Linked DNA regions of Homo sapiens: region 2 is linked to region 1. Evidence: promoter capture Hi-C in human tissues and cell types (Jung and others, 2019). All regions are on one chromosome and are shown on one strand. The core of a region is centred on a gene start or on the middle of the fragment in contact, and the rest is flanking DNA. Distances in the headings are between cores, read along the strand shown. Region 1 holds the start of PITPNM2 (phosphatidylinositol transfer protein membrane associated 2). Region 2 overlaps MPHOSPH9 (M-phase phosphoprotein 9).

Region 1 (5,639 bases), core at 2,693-5,192:
TTCAAGTCCCACTTCTTTCAGGAAGTCAACCCTGACTGCCTTACCCAGAAAGGGCATCTCCTCCTCTGAACTCTACCTTCAACAACTCTTATCACACATACCCTTTGTTCCCCATGGACTCATCTCCCTAACCACACTGTGAGTTAGTGTGTTAGGTACAATGTTACCTTTTTATTTTTATTTATTTTTTCTTTTCTCACTCTGCTGCCCAGGCTGGAGTGCAGTGGCACAATCATAACTCACTGCAGCCTGAAACTCCTAGGCTAAAGGGATCCTCCCATCTCAGCTACAGGCGCACACCACCACGCCCAGCTAGCAATGTTACTTACTATATTTAATTCACTTATCCATACAGTTTTCCAGAAGCCTTTTGTGATGACTTTATAAAGAATATATATAGAGAGATTTATACATAAACACACACACAGAAAAAGAGACAGTTCAGGAAAGCAGCAATAAATATGCTGATGTTGAGGGTAATATAGTTGCTAGACAGAATATCACATTGTGTGCTGAGCAGCCTGGAAGCCAAGGAGAAGAGGAGAAACATAATCAGTTGGAAAGACAGTGTGGTATAGAAAGAGCCACACATAGTGTGGCAAAGAAGCAGAACTGAGTGCAAATCCAGGGAAACTTGGGCAAGTTAGTTGACCTCTCTGTGTGTCTTAACTTCTTTCTCTGGGAAAAAGGGGAAGAATACAACCTACCCTGCACAGTGTGTCAGGGAGGCCCAAGCACACTGCATGGTGCATAGTATACAAACAAAACGTGTTTTCCTTCCCCACTTTCCTTTTCATTATCAAAGGAGAAAGCAACCTAGTTTCCTGCGGGAAGGCAAAGTTTGCCTGGCCCTAAATTCTAAAAGAAAATTTTAATATGGGTCACTGTAAGAAGCCTTTAGAAAGGGGAAAATGCCTCAGATTATGGTTTTAGAGTAAACCAGATGAGGATTTGCCATGGCTCTATTTGATAACATTCCAGGGTACCAGTAAAAGCTTAATAAACATCAACCAAATGACCTACAGAGAAGCTGTGCAAAGACCACTTAGCCGCATCTGTGTTTGGAGGCAGGGAGTCCTGTTAAGCAGCTTTCAGGGTGACTATCTGCAAAGGGATTGATCTCATCTAAGCGAAGTTGAGAACTGGCGTACAATGGCTCATTTTGGATTGACTCTGCGGTCATAAGCAGTGGCTCCTCCTGCCCATGGCCAAAGACACTGGAGCAATACCACTACGCTTACATTAAAGAGCACACGGCCCTGGCATTTTTTCCAAAAACAGCAAGGCAGTGATCTCAAAGTACCAGACGTTTCCTCTGCTAATCTCTACAGATAACTGCACATCCTCTATGACTGGTCTTCTCGAAGACCAAGTTGGAAAGACTTTAACTAGATGGGCTGGTTAGGAGAGCATCTATCTGCTTGGTGTTAAAACAGGCCTCTAGACACGGAGGAAGGCAACGGGTCCCCATAACAGAGAATGTATAAGCAATCAACTCTGGACAAGAAGGGCTCTCAGTGGTGATCTAGGCCAACCCTCTCACTATTTTCCTAAGTACCTTACTGTGCAGCAAAGCATTGGGGATGCAGAGAAACGTGATACAGCACTAACCGCCCAGGAGCTCACAGTCTAGTGGGGGGCACGTGTAAACAGATAAGGGCCATTCTGTGTGGCAAGCAAATCAGACTAGGGTGGTTCGAAAATCAGAAGAGGGACCAATTCCACCTGCGAAGGCCAAGACTGGGTCTCAACCAGTGAAGAGTTGAAGGCACCTGGGGAGAGGGAGGGCATGGGAGCACCATGCCTTTGAAAGCCTCTAGGTAGCCTGAGAGGACTGCAGCTTAGGGTATGAATGAAATGGTAGGAGAGGAGGCAGAAAAGGTAGACAGGACCCAGATCCCAGGGGGCCTTAGATACGCAGAGGAATTCTTTCAGATTCCATAAGGTGCAACCAAAACCAAGAGAAACCAAGTGACTTAGTTAAGCTCCTGTAGCAAGTTATGGGAAAAGCCAGGCCTGGAACCCCAGTCTCTCGACTCCCGCAGTCCACTTCTCTCCCCTGCTGCCTCCCACGCCTGAGCAGCTGGGGAAGACCAGGAGAGAGAATGGCCCATTCAACACTCACTACCCAGAGAATCTGGAGTCTTTGCCTGGCCATCTTCAGGGCAGAGGATGTACTGTCCTGTTCACTTGGCAAGCCACTCCTTACAAGAAAAACAGCCCTTCCTAACTCATTGTGTTTCTCTCTGCAGTGGGAGAGGGCTGGAAGTCCATTCCAACCACAGAATACAGTCCCTTCATGGAAGGAAAGTAATTTAACAGCAACAGTCCAGGAATCAGACAAGCTATGGTCCCAGAGGCAAGCGTTGGAGGGGCCTTCTGCTCCACGGAGACACTGACTCCACGCAGGGTACTGACCAGGGCAGGAGACCAGAGATGAATCAACTCCAGCCCGGGAGCTCACCGTCCAGCAGGGGAGATAAGGCAGATGGAAAAGTAACTATAAAATAAGGCAGACGGTGATAAGAGTTACACAGGAGATACAGATAGCAGGCAGTGGGAGTTCAGAGCAGAGAGGAGTCTGGGGGATGGATGTTAGGGGAGATTCAGATGAAGGGGAGCACTTACTGCCTTCCCTCCAGAAGTGGGGGGTCTATCCTAGCAGCTCTGGTCACTCCCAGGTGGAGGCCGGGGAGAGAGCTGGTTGTGGACAAAGACAGATGTTCCAGTGAGGTCTCCTTTGAAGAATCCCGACTCTGGGTGGGGGAGGCAGGTAGGCCGGGGTGTTTGGAGAGGCACCCAGCCCACACTTCAGTGGGAGGGAGAGGAGTGCAGGATGTCTCTGCAGGAGCAAGTCGGTGGAAAGGGGACAAGCCTGGAGGACTTGCCTTGAAATGACATTTGCACCGCGCGCACTATGTTCACCTGGAGTGGCCGTTTGGGATTTCTTGCGGGGAGGCAGTGCACACTGGGGCGGGGGACACTGAACTTTCCCTCTCCCCAAGGCCCCCCGATCAGCCCTGCCACGGATAAGAAAGGATTCGGGGTGGGAAGAAGACAGAGCCGGCACCCCATTACCACACGAAGGGGGCACTGAGGATGGAGACGGGCCACACCCCAACCCTGGGCCCCCGACAAGCAGAGGCCACGGCCCGGGCCTGGGGACGTTCAGCTGGAGGCGGGAAGCAGAGAAGGCGGGCCGGGGGCTCACCTCCGCTTCCTCCCGATAGCCCCTTCCTCGCCCTGGCACCGGCACTGCCCACGCCTGCCCCCCGACCGCTATGACACTTGTCCCTGGCGGGGGTCCCCCACGCGGTCGCGACCGACGGAAATTCGGAAATCAGCGTTTCGGGCACGGATCCAGGGCCGGCGACTCACTGAGGCCAGGCTCGGGCGGTCTCCCGAGCGGGGCTCCCGTACGCCACACCCTCCTCCCTGCCCGGGTCTCCGCTCCCTCCTCCAGCCCCCGGCGGGCTGGAGGCTCGGCGGGCGGGCGGGCCGGGGCCTCTCTGGGAGCCGCCGCCCAGATCCCCAGGTCCCCGGCCAGCGCCCGGCACTGCGGGACTCACCGCGGGCCTGCGGAGCGGCCGCCCGGACGCACTCACCCCGCTCGGCGCGGCCGCGGGCTCTGTCCTCTTCGGGGCCCCGGCTGGGCCGCCGCCACCTCACGCCGCCTCACGGGGAGCGCCCGCCCCGCGGCCCCGGCCCGGCCGGCTGCGCCCCGCGCGCCCCCGCCGCCTGCTGGCCCCGGGCGAGCGGCAGAGCCCCGGCGGGCATTGCTCCCGAGCGTCGCAGGCGGGCGGCGGCGGCGCACGTGCTGGCGGGCGGCTCTCGCTGAGGCGGCCGCGAGCTGAGAAGGAAGCGCCGGGCGGGCGGCCGGGGCCGGCTGGACAGCTCTACGCCGCGGCGCCGCGGTGCCCCGCGCACCCCAGCGGCCGCTGCTGCCCGCGCGCGCCGGGCCGGGCTCGCATTCCCTCAGTGGCGGCGGCGCCTCCTCAGGCCGCGCGGGGGAGCGGCGGCGGCGGCGGCGGGGGCGCGTCCCTGCGGAGTCTCGGCCCGGCCCCGCCGCCTCCGCCGGAAGAAACCTCTCCGACTCGGGCAGCCCGCCTGGTTCCTCAGACCTGCCGCGGCGACCCCGCTCCTCCCCGGCTCGCCCGTGTCCTCAGGGCCCGGGACTGGACTCGGGGGCGGCGGCGCGGATCCCCGCCCCGGGCTCCTCGCCCACCGTCCGCAGCAGCCGAGCGCACTCGGGGGCGGGAACCGGCCGACTTGCGGCCACTGTGACTCTTAAAACAGCCTCATTTTAAAAAATGAAGTTTCTTAGGAGCGAAATGGTAAACCAGGGAGGGCAGAGCGCAGCGGGCAGCTCACCGAAGCCCAGCCCCGGGCGCGGTGCTCGCCACACGGTGGGTCCGCGCTCTCCCCTCAGGACGCCCGGGCCGCGGCCCAGGGAACGGCAGAGCCGGGAGCGCAGCCGTCCCGGTCCCCACCTCAGGGAGTAGCTGGAAGAGGATCACGAACAGTTTAATCCGGATGATCTGGCACGACAGGGCTCTCCAATGGGAAGAGCCCCCGGTGGGGGAGCGCCTGGTGACATTCCTTAAAAACATGAGGTGTTTGTTAGGTTGAGCCAGGGTGGACTTGTTTGGCAAAATCTGAAGTCATGGAACTAAAGAGAGCACACCTAAAACTTAGTGATGTGTGACCCATCCCTACTTGTCACCTTATAAGGCTGAGGAGACGGCGGTGCTCCCCTGGAGGAGAGAGGACAAGCTAAAATTAAGGCGGCCTAGATGACTCCAGATGAAGCCGGGGAGGCCGAGCCCCTGACAGCTGCTCACCTCCTGGGGTCACGGCAGAACCCAACTGAACGGGCCAGGAAGGCCATCGTTCCCGACTCGCCTCCAGGTGCCCCTGACCATGACCACGCAGAGGAGGACCAAGGCGTACCACCATCACCTAGAACGCTTCAGCTCCTTCCCTCCACCAAGAGGTGCCCTAGGATCCATCCAGAAAGATCTGCGGAGCCCACAGAGTCCCAACGGGAACTGTGCTCCTGGATGGACGCCCCTTAACCCATAACTCAAGGACTTCTCTATGCCTGGGACTTAAAATCACCAACAACCCGCTCCTGCAGCCAGCTAGCAGAAATAAACACACAAAGGCCACACGCCAGTTCACAGCCACAAGTATTTATTGAGTGCCTGTAGTGCAAGAAAGAGAGATGGTCCCTGCTCCCGCGGAGCTTACAGCTTCACGACTCCAGCATCTGGCTAGATTCAGAAACAACTGCAGCAAGCACTTGTCTACCCACCAGCAGCACTGTAAAAAGCACATTTCTCACATTATCGGTCACTGTTACAGTGAAATTGTTAGATGTAAAAATTATCCTTGAAATCTGTAGTCATAGAGATGACATGGTACATAATGTCCAGCAAATGCACATTTATGGCTTGATTCCTCACATATCTGAGGGGTCTATGGAAATAAAGTACAAATCAGGCAGAAAAGACTTAGTAACACAGTTCCTAAGAATACTGGGGTAGTAGTTTATTATCAAACTACCATAGAGCTCTTGGCAGGGCAGGAAATTATTTCCAGCAAAATTTGTGCAATATAGTGGATTTAATCAAACCTGC
Region 2 (5,736 bases), core at 2,488-4,987, 35 kb after region 1:
TTCAAGCAATTCTCCTGCCTCAGCCTCCCGAGTAGCTGGGACTACAGGCGCACGCCACCATGCCCGGCTAATTTTTGTATTTTTAGTAAAGACGGGGTTTCACCATGTTGGCCAGGATGGTCTTGATCTCTTGACCTCATGATCCGCCCGCCTCAGCCTCCCAAAGTGCTAGGATTACAGGCGTGAGCCATCATGCCCGGTGTTTTTTTTGTGTTTTTTTTTTTGTTTTTTTTTTTTGATGGAGTCTTGCTCCATCACCTAGGTTGAAGTGCAGTGGCGTGTTCTCAGCTCACTGCAAACTTTGCCTCCTGGGTTCAAGCAATTCTCCCACCTCAGCTTCCCAAGTAGCTGGGATTACAGGCGTATGCCACCATGCTCAGCTAATTTTTGTATTAGATGGCGTCTCATCATGTTGGCCAGGCTTGTCTCAAACTCCTGACCTCAAGTGATCCACATGCCTTGGCCTGCCAAAGTGCTGGGATTACAGGCTTGAGCCACCACGCCTGGCCTATTGTATATTACTTTTTGCTAAATTAGTTCTACCTAGTAAAAGCACAATGCCAAAGTCTTTATTTAAAAATATATATATGTGAGGCTGGGCATGGTGGCTCATGCCTGTAATCCCAGCACTGTGGGAGGCCAAGGTGGGTGGATCACTTGAGGTCAGGAGTTCGAGACCAGCCTGGCCAACATAGCGAAACCTTGTCTCTACTAAAAATACAAAAAAATTAGCTGGGTGTGGTGGCGCGTGCCTGTAATCCTGCCTACTTGGGTGGCTGAGGTGGGAGAACTGCTTGAACCCAGGAGGCGTAGGTTGTAGTGAGCTGAGAGGGCACCACCGCACTCCAGCCTGGGTGACAGAGTGACATCTTGTCTCAAAAATAAATAAATAAGAGGCCGGGCGTGGTAGCTGACGCCTGTAATCCCAGCACTTTGGGAGGCTGAGGCAGGTGGATCACTTGAGGTCAGGAGTTCAAGACCAGCCTGGCCAATATGGTAAAACTCCGTCTCTACCAAAAATATTTTAAAAAATAAAAATAAATAAATATAAGAACACATATGTGAGATTTCTGGTTAAAGATGACAAATTAATAACAGAATTTTCTTCTCTTCACCCTCAGAGTCCACTAAACTAACAATGAAGAAATTAAAGAGAAAACAAACGAGGTGACAGTAACAGGTGAGAGATTTCAATAAAGTCTTAGAAAATTGAAAAGAAACAAAGTGCTGGCCGGGCGTGGTAGCTCACACCTGTAATCTCAGCACTTTGGGAGGCCGAGGCAGGTGGATCATCTGAGGTCAGGAGTTCAAGACCAGCCTGGCTAACATAGCGAAACCCCGTCTCTACTAAAAATACAAAAATTAGTCAGGTGTGGTGGCACGTGCCTGTAGTCCCAGCTACTCAGGAGGCTGAGGCAGGAAAATTGCTTGAACTTGGAAGGCAGAGGTTGCAGTGAACCGAGATGGTGCCACTGCACCCCAGCCAAGGTGACAGAGCAAGACTCTGTCTCAAAAAAAAAAAAAAAAAAAAAAAGAAAAAGGAAAAAAGTGCCTTAGCAGGGTGGAAGTGGATACAACCCCAAGTGCCTGAATCCAGAAATGCTGATGAAAAGCAGGCTGATGTCAGCATAACTGTGAGAGATGCCCACCTTGAAACCCAGGTTTAGAGATGGACAGGGTTGAGGCACAGGGCTGACCACAGAAAACTGGTTGAAATTCCTTAAGTAATCAGAGCCCAGGACACATCCCATACAGCAGTAGACTGTTCAGCCAGGTGGCAGGACAGCAGGAGAAAATGAATGGGGAGAAAAATGGAACTTTGGAAATCCAAGGATAATAGTGGAGTGGGAGGCAGAGGATAAAGAGAAAATGACAAAGTAAAAGACTTCAAAAACACCCAGGGCAGGTCACACCTATAATCATAGCACTTTGAGAGGCCGAGGAAGATTACTTGAGCCCAGGAGTTGGAGACCAGCCTGCGCAATATAGCAAGACCCCATCTCTACAAAAAATTTAAAAATTAGCCAGGTCTGGTGGCATGTGCCTGTAGTCCCAGCTACTGGGGAGGCTGAGGCAGGAAGATTCCTCGAGCCCAGGGGTTTGAAGATGCAGTGAGCTATGATCACACCACTGCACTCCAGTCTCGGTGACAAGGTGAGACCTGTCTCTAAAATAAATATATTAACAAATAATTTTCTTTTGAAAAAAGGTGACCTCCCCCTCCTCCACTGCCAGAATCTGACTGATAGGTCCCAGGCAAGAGACTGTAAGACCTGTCTTTACGAAAACTGAACAACCCCAGAAAAAAAACCTTCTAAACATTCACATCTGGAGGTCCCCTAACAAAATGGCTGGTGCATGACTCTACAATCGCCTGAAAATGAAGGCTACCAGGAACTAAGTCCCATCCATACACTTAAGAGTCTTTCAATAGCTTTTTATACTGCTTCGCTTTAATTTAATTTTTTTTTTTTTTCTTGAGATGGAGTCTTGCTCTGTCGCCCAGGCTGGAGTGCAGTAGCGTGATCTCTACTCACTGCAAGCTCCGCCTCCCGGGTTCACGCCATTCTCCTGCCTCAGTCCCCTGAGTAGCTGGGACTACAGGCATCCGCTACCACGCCCAGCTAATTTTTTTGTATTTTTAGTAGAGACGGGGTTTCACCATGTTAGCAAGGACGGTCTCCATCTCCTGACCTTGTGATCTACCCGCCTCGGCCTCCCAAAGTGCTGGGATTACAGGCATGAGCCACCGTGCCCGGCCTATTTAATTTAATTTTTATCTTTTGAGACAGAGTCTCACTCTGTCACCCAGGCTGGTGTGCAGTGGTGTGATCTCAACTCACTGCAATCTCCACTTCTTGGGTTCAAGCAATTCTCATGCTTCTGCCTCCCGAGTAGCTGGGATTATAGATGTGCACCATCACACCCAGCTAATTTTTGTAGTTTTAGTAGAGACAGGGTTTCACCATGTTGGCCAGGCTGGTCTCAAATTCCTGGCCTCAAGTGATCCACCCGTCTCAGCCTCCCAAAGCACTGAGATTATAGGCGTGAGCCACCACACCCAGCCTAGTGCCTCTTAAATGTGAGCCTGCAAAAGAACCAACACTTGGAAAAAGACATTAAATATGAAAGATACTTCAAATGAAAACAAAAGCTTAACTCAGAATAATGAAAACTACAGAAACAGTCCAATGGAAGCCATAATATTCTCAAAGAAATAACAACATTAGATTCAAAACAGGAATAGAAAGCTATTAAAAATGATCAATCAGAAAAAGAGTTGTTAGAAACTAAAAAAAAAAAAAATATTGTTACAAAATTTCGGCATACCAAGGATAAAAAGATGATCCTAAAAAACTTCCAGAAAGAGAAAAAAAGAACCACATTAGAAAGGAATGAGAAACATGATTACTAAATGCAATGTGGGCCAGGCACATTGGCTCATGCCTGTAATCCCAGCACTTTGGGAGGCCAGTGTGGGAGTATCGCTTGAGCTCAGGAGTTGGAGACCAGCAAGAGCAACATAGTGAGACCGCATCTCTACAAAAAAATAAAATTAGCCAGGTGTGATAGCCTGTAGTGTCTGTAGTCTCAGCAGTCGGAGAGGCTGAGGTAAGAGGATCACTTGAGCCCTGGAGGTTGAGGCTGCAGTGAGCTATGAATATGCCTACTGTACTCCAGCCTGGGTGACAGAGTGAGATCCTGTCTCAAAGAAATGATAACAATAAATGCAATGTGTGATCCTTGATTGGATTCTGGATTAAAAAGCAAAAAACAATACATCTATAAAGGATATTATTTAGACAACTGGCAACATTTGAATATAGACAGAATGTATTTACATATTAGTATTATATCAATGTTAAATTTCCTGAGGATGAAAAGTACATTGAGATTACACAGGAGAGGCCGGGCATGGTGGCTCAAGCCTGTAATCCTTAGCACTTTGGGAGGCCGAGGCGGGTGGATCACGAGGTCAGGAGTTCGAGACCAGCCTGACCAACATGGTGAAACCCCGTTTCTACTAAAAATACAAAAATTAGCTGGGCATGGGGTGGTGTGCGCCTGTAATCTCAGCTACTTGGGAGGCTGAGGCGGGAGCATTGCTTGAACCCGGGAGGCGGAGGTTGTGGTGAGCTGAGATCGTGCCATTGCACTCCAGCCTGGGCAATAAGAGCAAAACTCCGTCTCAAAAAAAAAAAAAAAAAAAAAAAAGAGATTACACAGGAGAATATCTCTGTTCTTCAGAGATACCTATTGAGGTATTTAAGGGTAAATTATCATAGTGTCTAATTTACTCTCAAATATAGTTCAGCAAAAGAAAAAAGTTTATATCTCTATGAAGACAAAGCAATGCTGTAAGATACTCACAACTGGTAAATCTAGGTAAAGAATATACAAGGGTTTTCATTGTATCATTCTTACAATTTTTCTGCAGGCTTGAAACTTTGAAAGCCATGGGAGGGGAGAGAAAGGAAAAGAATTGATCATGTCATAGGCAATAAAACAAAGCCTTCAAATCTGAAGAAAACATACACCCAGAATCACAGTTAGGATCTAGATCTTCATCTTCAGCTAGGACCTAGATCTTCACCCACCACAATTATAGATAATATGTAAAATTTAAGAAATAACAATATCGAGCCAGCCACAGGGGCTCATTCCTGTAATCCCAGCCTTTCATGAGGCTGAGGCAAGTGGATCACTTGAGGTCAGGATTTCGAGGTCAGCCTGGCCAATATGGTGAAATCTCATCTCTACTAAAAATGCAAAAATTAGCTAGGCATGGTGGCACGCGCCTGTAACCCCAGCTACTCAGGAGGCTGAGGCAAGAGAATTGTTTGAACCCAGGAAGTGGAGGTTGCAGTGAGCCAAGATCATGCCACTGCACTCCAGCCTGGGCGACAGAACAAGATTCCATCTCAAAAAGGAAAGAAAGAGGCCAGGCGCAGTGGCTCTCGCCTGTAATCCCAGCACCTTGGGAGGCTGAGGCGGGCAGATCACCTGAGGTCAGGAGTCCGAGACCAGCCATGGCTAACATGGTGAAACCCTGTTTCTACCAAAAATACAAAAAACTAGCCGGGTGTTGTGGTGCTCGCCTATAATCCCAGCTACTTGGTAGGCTGAGGTAGGAGAATCACTTGAACCCAGGAGGCAGAGGCCGCAGTAGCCAAGATTGCGCCATTGCACTCCAGCTTGGGCAATAAAAGCGAAACTCTGTCTCAAAAAAAAAGAACGAACGAACAATATCAGTACATTATTTAGAAATACATAAATACTAGAATATGATATACCTCGAGAAAAAAATGAACAAAGGATGTAAAAGGCCTTAATTTTTAAAAAAGAAAAATACTTGAGATTTAAACCACGTTCATGTATGGGAAGAATCAATATTTCAAGTCTCAGCTGTCTCCAAATAAATCTGTAAATTCAGTGCAATTCCAATCGAAAGCAGAGTGGCATGCTGACAGTAATATTTGTATGAAACAAAACAAAGCCAAGAAATAGGCAAAATAATTTTTACAAGAGCAAAAAAACGAGATAAGGAAATGGCACCAAAAATCAACACTTGTTATAAAATACTAATAATTTACATGATGTGGTTCCAATTCAGAGACAGACCAATGGAACAGCTCAGAGCCTCAAAGGAGATTTACACGAGAAGGAAATAAAATGTACAACAGAAGTCAGTAAGGGAAGGAAAATCTATTTAAAAATGATTCTGGGACAACTGGT

What was found. The method cuts DNA at HindIII sites, captures the fragments that hold promoters and counts their contacts. A contact is called where the count stands out against the background at its distance.
Region 2: a contact is called between a fragment that was not itself captured here and the fragment with the promoter of PITPNM2 in region 1, in 1 of the 25 tissues and cell types used here (psoas muscle).

Annotation. Positions count from the first base shown.
Region 1 is chr12:123,147,148-123,152,786 of GRCh38, forward strand. It overlaps PITPNM2 (phosphatidylinositol transfer protein membrane associated 2), which reads right to left and starts at 3,943. Exons shown (of 26, transcript NM_020845.3): 1 at 3,606-3,943. It also overlaps a transcript of MPHOSPH9 not described here. RefSeq lists silencers at 3,497-3,586, 3,687-3,826, 3,847-4,106, 4,127-4,326. The HindIII fragment of the contact is 7,714 bases long and covers 1-5,639 here.
Region 2 is chr12:123,182,037-123,187,772 of GRCh38, forward strand. All of the region lies in intron 13 of MPHOSPH9 (M-phase phosphoprotein 9), which reads right to left. Among named protein-coding and RNA genes, the nearest start is that of PITPNM2, 34 kb to the left of the region's middle. The HindIII fragment of the contact is 5,791 bases long and covers 843-5,736 here.